Regions from separate parts of the Homo sapiens genome. Here region 2 is linked to region 1. Evidence: promoter capture Hi-C in 16 types of primary human blood cells and fetal thymus (Javierre and others, 2016). All regions are on one chromosome and are shown on one strand. The core of a region is centred on a gene start or on the middle of the fragment in contact, and the rest is flanking DNA. Distances in the headings are between cores, read along the strand shown.

Evidence for each region. Contacts are between HindIII fragments. The CHiCAGO score rates a contact against its expected background, and 5 or more counts as called.
Region 2: a contact is called between a fragment that was not itself captured here and the fragment with the promoter of SAMD11 in region 1, in 2 of 17 cell types (erythroblasts and neutrophils). The highest score is 6.6, in erythroblasts.

Annotation. Positions count from the first base shown.
Region 1 is chr1:920,876-925,824 of GRCh38, reverse strand. SAMD11 (sterile alpha motif domain containing 11) reads right to left here and starts at 1,902. Exons shown (of 14, transcript NM_001385641.1): 1 at 877-1,902. The coding sequence starts at 1,393. LOC107985728 (collagen alpha-1(III) chain-like) reads left to right here and starts at 221. Exons shown (of 5, transcript NR_168405.1): 1 at 221-307; 2 at 2,364-2,550; 3 at 2,682-2,812; 4 at 3,090-3,153; 5 at 3,316-4,949. LOC284600 (a long non-coding RNA gene) reads right to left here. Exons shown (of 5, transcript XR_007065342.1): 5 at 4,806-4,949. RefSeq lists enhancers at 67-613, 2,279-2,857, 4,699-4,949. The HindIII fragment of the contact is 23,463 bases long and covers 1-4,949 here.
Region 2 is chr1:1,216,182-1,221,130 of GRCh38, reverse strand. It overlaps SDF4 (stromal cell derived factor 4), which reads left to right. Exons shown (of 7, transcript NM_016176.6): 5 at 2,204-2,362; 6 at 2,498-2,673; 7 at 3,443-4,200. The coding sequence ends at 3,619. Among named protein-coding and RNA genes, the nearest start is that of TNFRSF4, 4.5 kb to the right of the region's middle. The HindIII fragment of the contact is 5,266 bases long and covers 276-4,949 here.

The DNA.
Region 1 (4,949 bases), core at 653-3,152:
ATACACCCCGAACCCCACACCCACCTCGGCCCGACTTCCCAGCCCGCTTCCCGTCCCACCCTCGCGAACGCCGCAGGGATCTGCTGGGCTCTGCAACTCCAGCCCGGGTGGAGCGCCCTCCCCCGACGAAGGGCCTGGGCGTCCCCACCCGGCGCCCCTCCTCCCGCGCTCCACCCTCTCCCCGGCCCCGAGGGAACCGCAGGCCGGGCCCAGAAAGGCTGAGTCCCGGAGCGGTGAGCGGCGCCGTCGGGACCCTCGGCCTGCGCGGCAGGAAGAGGCGGCCACCGCGGAACCACGCACCGCTCAGGTCCCGAACTTTTTAACTCCCCGCGGCGCCTGGCGCTCACCGCACCCCCTGTGTCCCGGCTCAGGCGCCCCCGCGTCGCACCCTTGGGCCCAGGCGCCCGCAGGCGCCAAAACAGGTTGTGTGACCTGGCGCCGCCGCTCGGGCTCCGCGCGCGCCCCCGCGCCGCCCCGCAGCCTCCCCCGCCGCGCGCTCGCACCCGGCCGCACGTGCGCCCCTCCAGTCTCCCCCGAACCCGGGGCTCCGCGCCCTCCCAACCCGCCTCCTGCCCGCTCTCTCGAGTCCCCGTAAACTTCCTTCGGGCCTTAAGGCCCAGGAGCCTCGCAGAGACCTTCCGAGCGGAGGGAGCGGCCCGCGAGCCCCAAGCGCTGTGGCCCAAGCTGGGGGGAGGTGCAGCGGGGGGCGATCTGTCCGTGTTCACCGAGGCCTCCGCGCGCGGCGGGGGTGTCCCCGCGCAGCCCTGGAGCTGCAGCGCCCCCTCGGCCGAGCCGGAGGCTCCCGGGTGTCCGAGTCGGGTAGGGGGTGGGGTCGGGGCCCGCGGGTCCCGGCAGCGAAGGGAGGGGCGGCGGCACCTTTGTGGCGGATGCTGCGCTTCCAGTCCTTGGCCGTCTCGCGGCCGCTGACGAACTGGAACTCGTTGGGCGTGAGCCACTCGCCGCGGTGGCGGATGGACGGGCCCTTGCTGCCCTGGCAGAGTTTGCGCACGTAGAGCAGCGCGCGGTTGGCGCCGCACTCCACCTCGATGCACGGCTCGCCGTTGTCCAGCAGCGGCTGGAAATCCGGGGCCGCGGCCGCGGTGGCCGAGAAGCGCTCGAGGGCCAGCGGGTCCCTGGGCAGGTGGAGGTGCGGGGCGGCCTCGTGCAGGCTGAGGTAGGCGCGCGGGGGGCGGAGCGGCGGGGCCAGCAGAGCCTCGTAACCGGCGGCCGAGGCGGGCAGCGAGGCGGCCGGGGGGAGGGCGGCCGCCGCGGGCAGTGGCGCCAGGTAGCCTGGCAGCGGCGGCAGCGGCAGCGCGGCCAGGGTCGGGTGGAACGTGGCCAGAGCCAGGGCCAGGTCCTCGCGGCCCGGGAACTCCTTCTTGACCGCCGGCATGGCGCCCCGGTGGCTCCGCAGCCCCGCTCTCCGCCGGCGGCAGCAACTTATTCCGGCCCGGGCTGGAGTTGGGTCGCGGGGGCCGGGGAGGCGCCTGGCCGCGCGCCCACGCCGTCCGCTAGTGCGCCCCGGCGCCCGCAGCCGCCGCCTACGCGCCGCCCGCCAGGCCTCCCCGGACTGCCCAGCCGGCCGGCGGGGCCTCAGAGGCCGGAGACATGGAGCTGCTATCGATCCCGGATCGACTCGCCGAGCGCCGCAGTTCCAGGGCCTCGGGGCTCCCCGGGGCGTCTGGAGTCCCGCGCCCCGGCCACCAGCGCCCGCGCCCGGGGCAGTCCCACGCCCGGCTCGCCGACCCACCCGCCAGGCCGAGCCCGGCAGCGAGGAGTCGCGGAGTCCCCGCCCCTCTCGGGGGTCCCAAGCCCCCGCCCCGCCGCCCGGGCCGCGTCAGTCGTGCACCCGCGTCCACTGGCGCGCGCCCGCCCGGCGGGGACTTGGGAGACTCCGCCGCCGACGCCGCCGCCACAACTTGGCCCATTTAAACGGCCCCGGCGCGGCGGGCGGCGCGGGCTCCCGCGGGGGGTGCGTGACGGCCGACTCGGGGCATCCGGCGGCGGCAGCGGGACAGGGCTGCGGCCCCCGGCACTATCCCGAGTACCGAGTCACTGCGAGCGGCTGGAATCCAGGACTCCGCGCGGGACTGGGATGGGCTGGGCTGGTCGCGGACCGGGCTCCTCTCGGAGGGAGGGAGCTGGGGGCTGCTCGCCGGGGTGTGAGCGTGCGCCGGCGGCTCTGGGACTTTGCGCAGCGAATCTGATGGTGGGCGTTGGTGTCCGGGAGGGCGTGGGTGGTCTCAGTGCACCTGCAGGGAGCGAGGTTGTGGATTTGTAGTGTGTTGCCTGGGCAAAGTGTTCTGTGAATAACAGGGCAGCACCTCCCCGCCCACTCGTGCCCCTTCCTATGCACTTGACAGGAGTGAGTTCGCCCGAGCCACGGAGTTCCTGTTCAGTCTTTTGCAGAAGACGCTGAGACAGAAAGGTCAAGTAACTCTCCTGAAGTCACACAGCTGTTTCAAATGCAGGATGTCTCACACCAGGACCGCGCCAGGACCATGGTGTGGGGCAAGAGCTTCCTGTCACCCCACACCTCCCAGCAGGAAGGTGGTGTGGATCCGAGGCAGGGTGAGGGTGGGGGATAGCGGGTTGGCAGAGTGCACGGCCTCCCACTAGGAGGAGCAAGGCTAGTGAAGCAGGACCGGCCACACCACGTCCACCTTGGTGCCTTCTGACAGGTCAGTCTGGGCCCCAGTCCCTGGTTCCTGGTGAGCTTCCCATCACCCCCCACCTCCCTGCGTGCCCAGATCGGCATTGCATCTGGAGCGTTCCGAAGAGAAACACAACCTGGGGGCGTTGGTAACAGCAGGTGAGACAGCCTTGTCCTGCGCTGCTGTGCGGTGTTGCATCCACTAGAAAGGGGCCTCCTGTTCTGACCCTGGCCCCTGCCCTTGAGATGCAGCTGGCATGTCCCTGTGGGCATCTCCCAGAGCAGGTCCAGGGGTGAGTGGGCCACAGGCCTGTTTGCACAGGTGCCTTCTTCGAGGGAGGGAACAGCCCACCACCACCTCCTGCCAGACCAGCTTCCTTGAGCATAAACCTGACCCTGGGTGACCACGCTGGGCTCCTTCACCTTATCTCACCAGAGGCTTCTGCTGGTCCCACAGCCAACCCGCGGAGTGAGGTCTGGGCCAGGAGTGCTCTGCTCAGGCAAGGAACATGCCCAGAAGCCTCCCCCGCTATCCTGGCCCTGTTCTGTGGGGGCTCGTTGGTCTGTTGGGGTCTGGGGGGCCAGGTAGGAGTGTGGGTGTGAGTGTCGGTGACCCTTCCTTATGTGGCCACCCTTGGCCCTATCAACCTGTCTGCATCCAGGACACCAGCACATCCCTGACCCCAGCTGTGGCTGCCAGTGAGTTCCTGTGCCTTCCTCTCCTGAAGTCTGTGTCTTCTCCCAGGTCTGATACCATGTGGAAAGTCTGCTCCTGGGGCCAGCTGGAGGCCATGTGGACTGGCCCTGAGTGCCCACTGTCTGGATGCAGCCCTGACCCTACTGCCCGTGTGTGGGCTACTAGGTTCACCTGCACCTGACCCTCCTTCTAGGTTCGCCTGCACCTGACTCCCTGATGTTCACACAGTGATTTGGAGAGGGAGGCTGGGGAGGCGCAGGTCTGCATGGCAGTGCCTCTCAGGGTCTGAGGCCCTTGGGCCAGGCCTCTCCTCTGACCTGGGCCAGCAGAGGGGCCTCCTTTCCCTTCCAAGAGCCCTCCCCTGTTCACCAGCATCTCATCATGCTCAGGCCCACAGTGTGGTTAAGGAGGGGCATGGGGCTGGCCCTGGGTTTCTGGCTGGGTGTGGGGGCCTACCCGGGGCCCATGGTGTCTTCCAGAAAAGACCCTGACTGGGTCCAAAGCTGGAGGCACCCCTCTATCCTCACTGTCCACTCCCTGATGTTCTGGAGGTCCCTCCAGGGGCTGGGTGAGGAGGCCTTCCCCACCACCTCCTTGTCTTCCTGGGAAGCAGGCACCCGTTCAGAGGCCACGTTCCCACAGGACCAGGCTCCTCACCCCCAGCATCACCCTTTTCCACGGGGTTGTGCCCCTTCCTTGGTCCTGTCCACTCACACACACCCGTGTCCGTGTCCATGTTCACACCTGTTCTGTGTCCACTCCCACACACCTGTGTCCACTCCCACACCTGTGTCTCGTGTCCACTCGCTCACACCTGTACTGTCCGTGCCCACTCACACGTGTCCCGTGTCCACTCGCTCACACCCGTGTCTCATGCCCGCTGGCTTACACCAGTCCCGTGTTCACTGGCGCACCTGTGTCCCATGTCTTGTGTCTGCTCGCACATCTGTGTGATGTGTTCACTTGCTCACACGTGTCCTCCACTACCACACCTGTGTCCCATGTCCACTCACACACCTGTCTTGGTCTGGGACACCTGGGCCCCACTCTCCCCTGCACTCCTCAGGCTGGCGGCAGAGGCCAGAGGAACGGAGTTCTGGCGCTGGAATCATCCTGAGCGAGGCAGGGACCTGGCGGTGTGGACTCCACCGCCCCTCCTCCGGCCCACCGAGCCCCGCCTGCCTGGGCCTTGGTGCCTCTGTCGCTGCTCCGGGTCCCCCTGCTGGGGCCCCTCCGCCGCTGGGCTGAGGCTGGAGCCTGCCTCCCGCCGCCAGAGGGAGGAGGTCATAAATAACCCTGGGGCTGCCATGGAGCAGACGGTGACCCCAGACGTCCTGGGGGAGTGTGGGGGCGCCAGGGGCCGCTGCCCCAGCCCGCATGCCGCCTCCGCCATCCGGGAGTGCCTGCCCAGGCTCCCCAGCATTTCTCTTAGAGCCCTTCTCATCCATCCCCTCATCAATCAATCAACCATTTATTGAGCCCAGATGTGGTACAGCCCCAGCCGGAGATGACCCAGAGGTGGGGTGGGGAGGAGAGAGATGGGGAAGCTGAGTCCGGGGCCACAGGTGCAGCCAGGAGGTGCAGGTGAGCAGCGCTCAG
Region 2 (4,949 bases), core at 1,659-4,158, 290 kb before region 1:
TCCGTTCTAAATCCTGCAAATTGGACATTAAAAAAACTAAAAGTAAGAGGATCTCCCTGTGTTGCCCAGGCTGGTCTCAAAGTCCTGGGCTAAAGGGATCTGCCTGCCGCAGCCTCCCAGCATGCCGGGATTACAGGCACAAGCCCCAGTGCCCGGCCAAATTGGACGTTATTACTTCCTTTCCAAAAGAGTGGTTTACATTTTCCTCCCCACACACGGTTCGTGCCTCCACCCCGGTCCCGCGTTCCCTGCTGTCCTGACTGCGTCTTTAAGCTTCATCCCGTTGGTCCGGCCTGTTGGCGATGTGCTTGGGGCAGGAGGCCTTGCCCGTGCCCGCCCCCCAACTCTGATTGTGTCTGTCTTTCCTTGGTGCCACTTTATTTGGGTCTTTTCTGCCCAGGACATGGCCCACCTGGACCTAGAGCTCTGTGACATTTCTGTGAAGCCTCCGTCTACCTTTGGGACTCAGCAGAGGTGTGTTTAGAATTCACTCTGCGTTTTGGGGGTCCCCATGCATGCTGAGGTGCTGTTCCCTGCCCACCCGTGTCCGATCCGTCTTGGCCTCCCCGACCTCAGGGTGCCTAGGACCCCCCGACCTCTTTGGGTATTTGGTTTCTGGCTCAGGAAGAGCAGCTGCCGGGTCCTGGAGGAGGGGCCTGGGAAGCGCTGGCAGGCGTCACTCCTGCGACCTCCCACCCCTCCCTGCATGGCTCCTGCGAGGGTCACCGCGTGAGTCCGGGGGCTGCTGTCCTCGCGCCTCAGACCTGATTCTGGGGACCGCGGTGAAGGCGTGGCAGGCGGGCATCACTCCCTTCCCCCGCCTCCATCGCTGCCTCTCTCTGGGTCTGCGTCCTCTTCTCACAGGGACAGCAGTCGTTGACTCTCCCTGATCCAGGAGGGTCTCTCCAGATCCTTCCCTAACAGCAGAGGCCCGGCTCGTGGGGAGGGACTGGGACTCAAGGCTTCTTCACCAGCCTGAGGTTGGTGCTGGGGCTCGGCGGCGGCTGTGAGAATCCTGTGCTGGAGAAAGCGTCTCTCGGCCGGCCTGTCTGGGGCGTCTGTGCCTCTCCTGGATGGGTCTCAGTTTGGCCCCGTCCATCCATCCCAGGAGCTGCGGTGGAGCAGACAGGGAGGGGTGCCCCAGGAACCACAGCCCCGTCACTCCTGTCTTCCTTTAAGTGAACCGGTCGTGTAGATGGAGGTTGTTCAGAAAGGGATAAGATGGGACGGCAGCTGGGCCTCATCCCGCAGTGAGCGCGACGCAGAGGCTGCCGGGCTTGTGGCAGGGGCTTCGGCCAGGGCAGAGTCGGGCCTCACGTGCAGGGGGCTGAGTGTGGGCCTCAACACTGGACTTGGCCACTGACTGCAGTGAGCCCCAAGATGGGGCAGGAGGTGGTGTTTCTGTCCTGGAGACCCAGGGTGGCTTGGGTCCTTGGGATGTGTGGGGACCTCGGGGTGAGGGCCCGTTGGGGCCGGGTGGGCACGGCAGGAGAGCGGGGGCCACACACCCAGAGGCAGTGCCGTGTCCCGGCTGGGAGGGTTCCTGGGAAGCTCTGCTCAGCCCCAGTCTCAGTCATTTCTAGAAACTGTGTTTTCCTCCCTGTGACGTCACACGTGAAGGAAACGGAAAAGGGCAGTGAGTCCTTCGCCCCGCGGCGCCGTGCGCACGTCAGCCTTCAGGGTGATTCCGCTCCTCCAGAGGGGCAGGCGCGGGTGTGGGGGGTGGGGCCCAGGCCCATCCTGAGGGGTCCCAGGCATGAGGGGCTCTGAGCTGTGTCCTGGGGTGGTCTGGGCCATGGGGAGGTTCTGGATCATGTCTTGAGAGGTCTGGGCTGTGTGGGGGGTCCAGGCCATGTCCTGGGGGTCTGGGCTGTGTCTGTGGGGAGTCAGGGCCATCCATGTATTGGGGGTCTGGGGCAGGGGGGGGTCCAGGCTGTCTTGGGGAGTCCGGGCTGTGTGGAGGGGTCCAAGCTATGCCTTTGGGGATCAGGCCTGTGGGAGGCTCTGGGTTATGTCTTGGCGGGGGTCCAGGCTGTGTCTTAGGGGCTGGGCCATGTTCTGGGGACGTGTGAATCCTGGAGGGTGGGGCCCCGGTCTCGCGGGTGGCTGTGTCCCTCGAGTTCAGGCAGCACCTCTCGGAACTTTCTGGATTTGCGTGCTGGCGTCTGTCGGCCTCGATACCCACAGGCTGCGCCCCTCTCAGCACAGGAAGTCCTGGAGAACCTGAAGGACCGCTGGTACCAGGCGGACAGCCCCCCTGCAGACCTGCTGCTGACGGAGGAGGAGTTCCTGTCGTTCCTCCACCCCGAGCACAGCCGGGGAATGCTCAGGTTCATGGTGAAGGAGATCGTCCGGGACCTGGGTGAGGCTGGGTCCAGCCTGGCCGGCACGCCAGGACCCAGGACCGACTGGCAGGGGCCGGGCATCGTCGGGAGGTCGGGGCAGGTCCTGCGGGAGCCCCAGCCTGGGTGTGGGCTGACCCATTCCCGTCTCGCAGACCAGGACGGTGACAAGCAGCTCTCTGTGCCCGAGTTCATCTCCCTGCCCGTGGGCACCGTGGAGAACCAGCAGGGCCAGGACATTGACGACAACTGGGTGAAAGACAGAAAAAAGGAGTTTGAGGAGCTCATTGACTCCAACCACGACGGCATCGTGACCGCCGAGGAGCTGGAGGTGAGCCCTGGCGCAGCCGTGTCCCGGAGCCGGCCCTGCGAGGTGCTGTGGCGGGAGGGGCTGGTGGATCTGGGCCTGAGGCAGGAAGCTGTGCTGGTGTCTGGCCTGAGACTCCATCTGGGCTGGTCACTGGGGCGTTTGCTCAGCGGTGTCCACCAGGCTGCATGGCCGTTGTTGGCGTTTAGGTTCAGACGGATCAGAGACAGGCGAGCCTGGCCGGGCTCCATCCTCAGCCCCTTGCGGAGGCGTCAGGGTTCTCACAGCCCCTTTTTAACGGGACCACAAGGGGAAGCTCATGCTGGGCCCAGCATGGAGGCAGGTCCAAGGCCCAGCAGGTGCAGGTGGGCGGGGCGGCCTGTGCCACATGGCTGGAATTTACCACCTTCCTCTGAAGCGTTTTCACTGGTATCATGTGTAGGCTTGTTTTTCTCCCACTGCTGAGTGAGTCATCTTGTTTTTATGTAGAATCCTGTGATTCCTGGCGACAGCCAGTGGGCCCGGCCCAGGTTAGGGATCCTTCAGAACTGGGGTCCAGGCCTGTGTAGCCCCTGTGCCCCGTTACCCCTGCTGGCCCCGGGCAGGCCTTCCGGGGCCCCCGGCTTCTCCCTGCCCTGTGTTTTCATTTGTGCCGCCTCCCTTCGGGAACCTTCCAGAACGTGCCCACACTCCCGCTGCAGCCAATAGGCACCTTAAATAGCCACTTCGTGCGGCTGGCCGCGGAGCTCGGAGGGGGAAAGGCGACGCTGACCTGTGCCCCGCTCGCCCGCAGAGCTACATGGACCCCATGAACGAGTACAACGCGCTGAACGAGGCCAAGCAGATGATCGCCGTCGCCGACGAGAACCAGAACCACCACCTGGAGCCCGAGGAGGTGCTCAAGTACAGCGAGTTCTTCACGGGCAGCAAGCTGGTGGACTACGCGCGCAGCGTGCACGAGGAGTTTTGAGCGCCCGGCCGCGCCCCGCGCCGCCCCCCACGCACCACCGGGGCGGCCTCGCGGGTGACTCCGGGCTCCGTGGCTGTCCCGGACCCCACCTCTTCCCTGCCGCCCGCCACCGGCCGACCGACCGCGGCTGCCCCAGTTGATGAGCGGCGTGTCCCCTCTGCAGCGCGCACCCCGGCGGGGCTTTGGCTGTGACGCGGTCGGGGCGCGGGGCTGGGCTGTGGCCCCGCGGCGCCGCCTCCTCCCTGGTCCCTCGAAATCGTGGCATCTCACTTCTGAGAACGAAATCTCGCTTCAGTCACTCTGCCGAAGGCGCTGACGGCATCGCGGCCGGAACCTCTGGGCCCGGCCCCTCCCAGGGCCGCCGCTCCGTGGGAAAAAACAGCTCCTCCATTTCCTTGAAAACTGAACGATTATTAAAAATAGATTAAACTTCGCTGGAAATGAGTAGCCAGGAAGTTCAGGGGAGGGTGCCGGGTCCTTCCCGGGCCTGGCGTGTCGGAGCCACCCAGGTCCCGCAGCTGCCGCTGAGAAAATGCAAATATTTGTTGTGACAAGAATCACATACATTTACTTTAAATATAGTTGCCTTTTTTGGTCAGCTTCATTCTTTGGGCGTGAAACAAAACACAACAGCAGCGTGCTAGGTTTGTGGTTACAGTTTCCACTGGAGCGCTGGAGGCTGGTGCTGGGTCACGTGGAGGGTTGGAGGTCATGGCCGGTTCGAGGTGATTCTCCTGGCAGGTGGCAACGGGCAGGGGCTCTGGGAGGACGGAGGGCAGCGCTGCGTTTGTGAGTAGGGGTCAGGGGGCAGCAGACGTGCCCACTGAGTTTGGGGTTTGGACATTTAAGGCAGGAGACAGAGCCGCCTGGGGGTTTTGGGTGGAGGATGGCAAGGTCTTTGGGTGCAGTGGGGCAGGCCTAGCCCCAGATGGGGCAGAGAATGGGGTGTGTTAGGACGGCTGGTGGGGGTCCTGCTCTGTGGCGTGTGGGGGCCCAGGCTGTGTCCTGGCTCTCCCAGTGGGAGCTCAGGGAAGCCGGGAGTGTGTCCTCTTCAGTCTGCCCTGTGGTGCCCATGTGACCGGCCTCTGCCCTGAGCCCACCTGCCCAGGGGCCCCTGTGGGGCCGAGAGGGCGGGTTGGCACCTGGGCTGGTTCCCAGGCAAACGAGATTCACAGAGCCACGGCCAGCGCAGGTGGTGGGAGGATGGTCCCACGCCCTGCTCTAAGGGGCTGTAATTCCCTGGAGCCAACCTTCGGTGGCCTGGACTCTGTCTTTCCCCATCCGTGGCCCCAGGCCACAGCCAGGGACCATCATAGCTGCAGCAGCATTC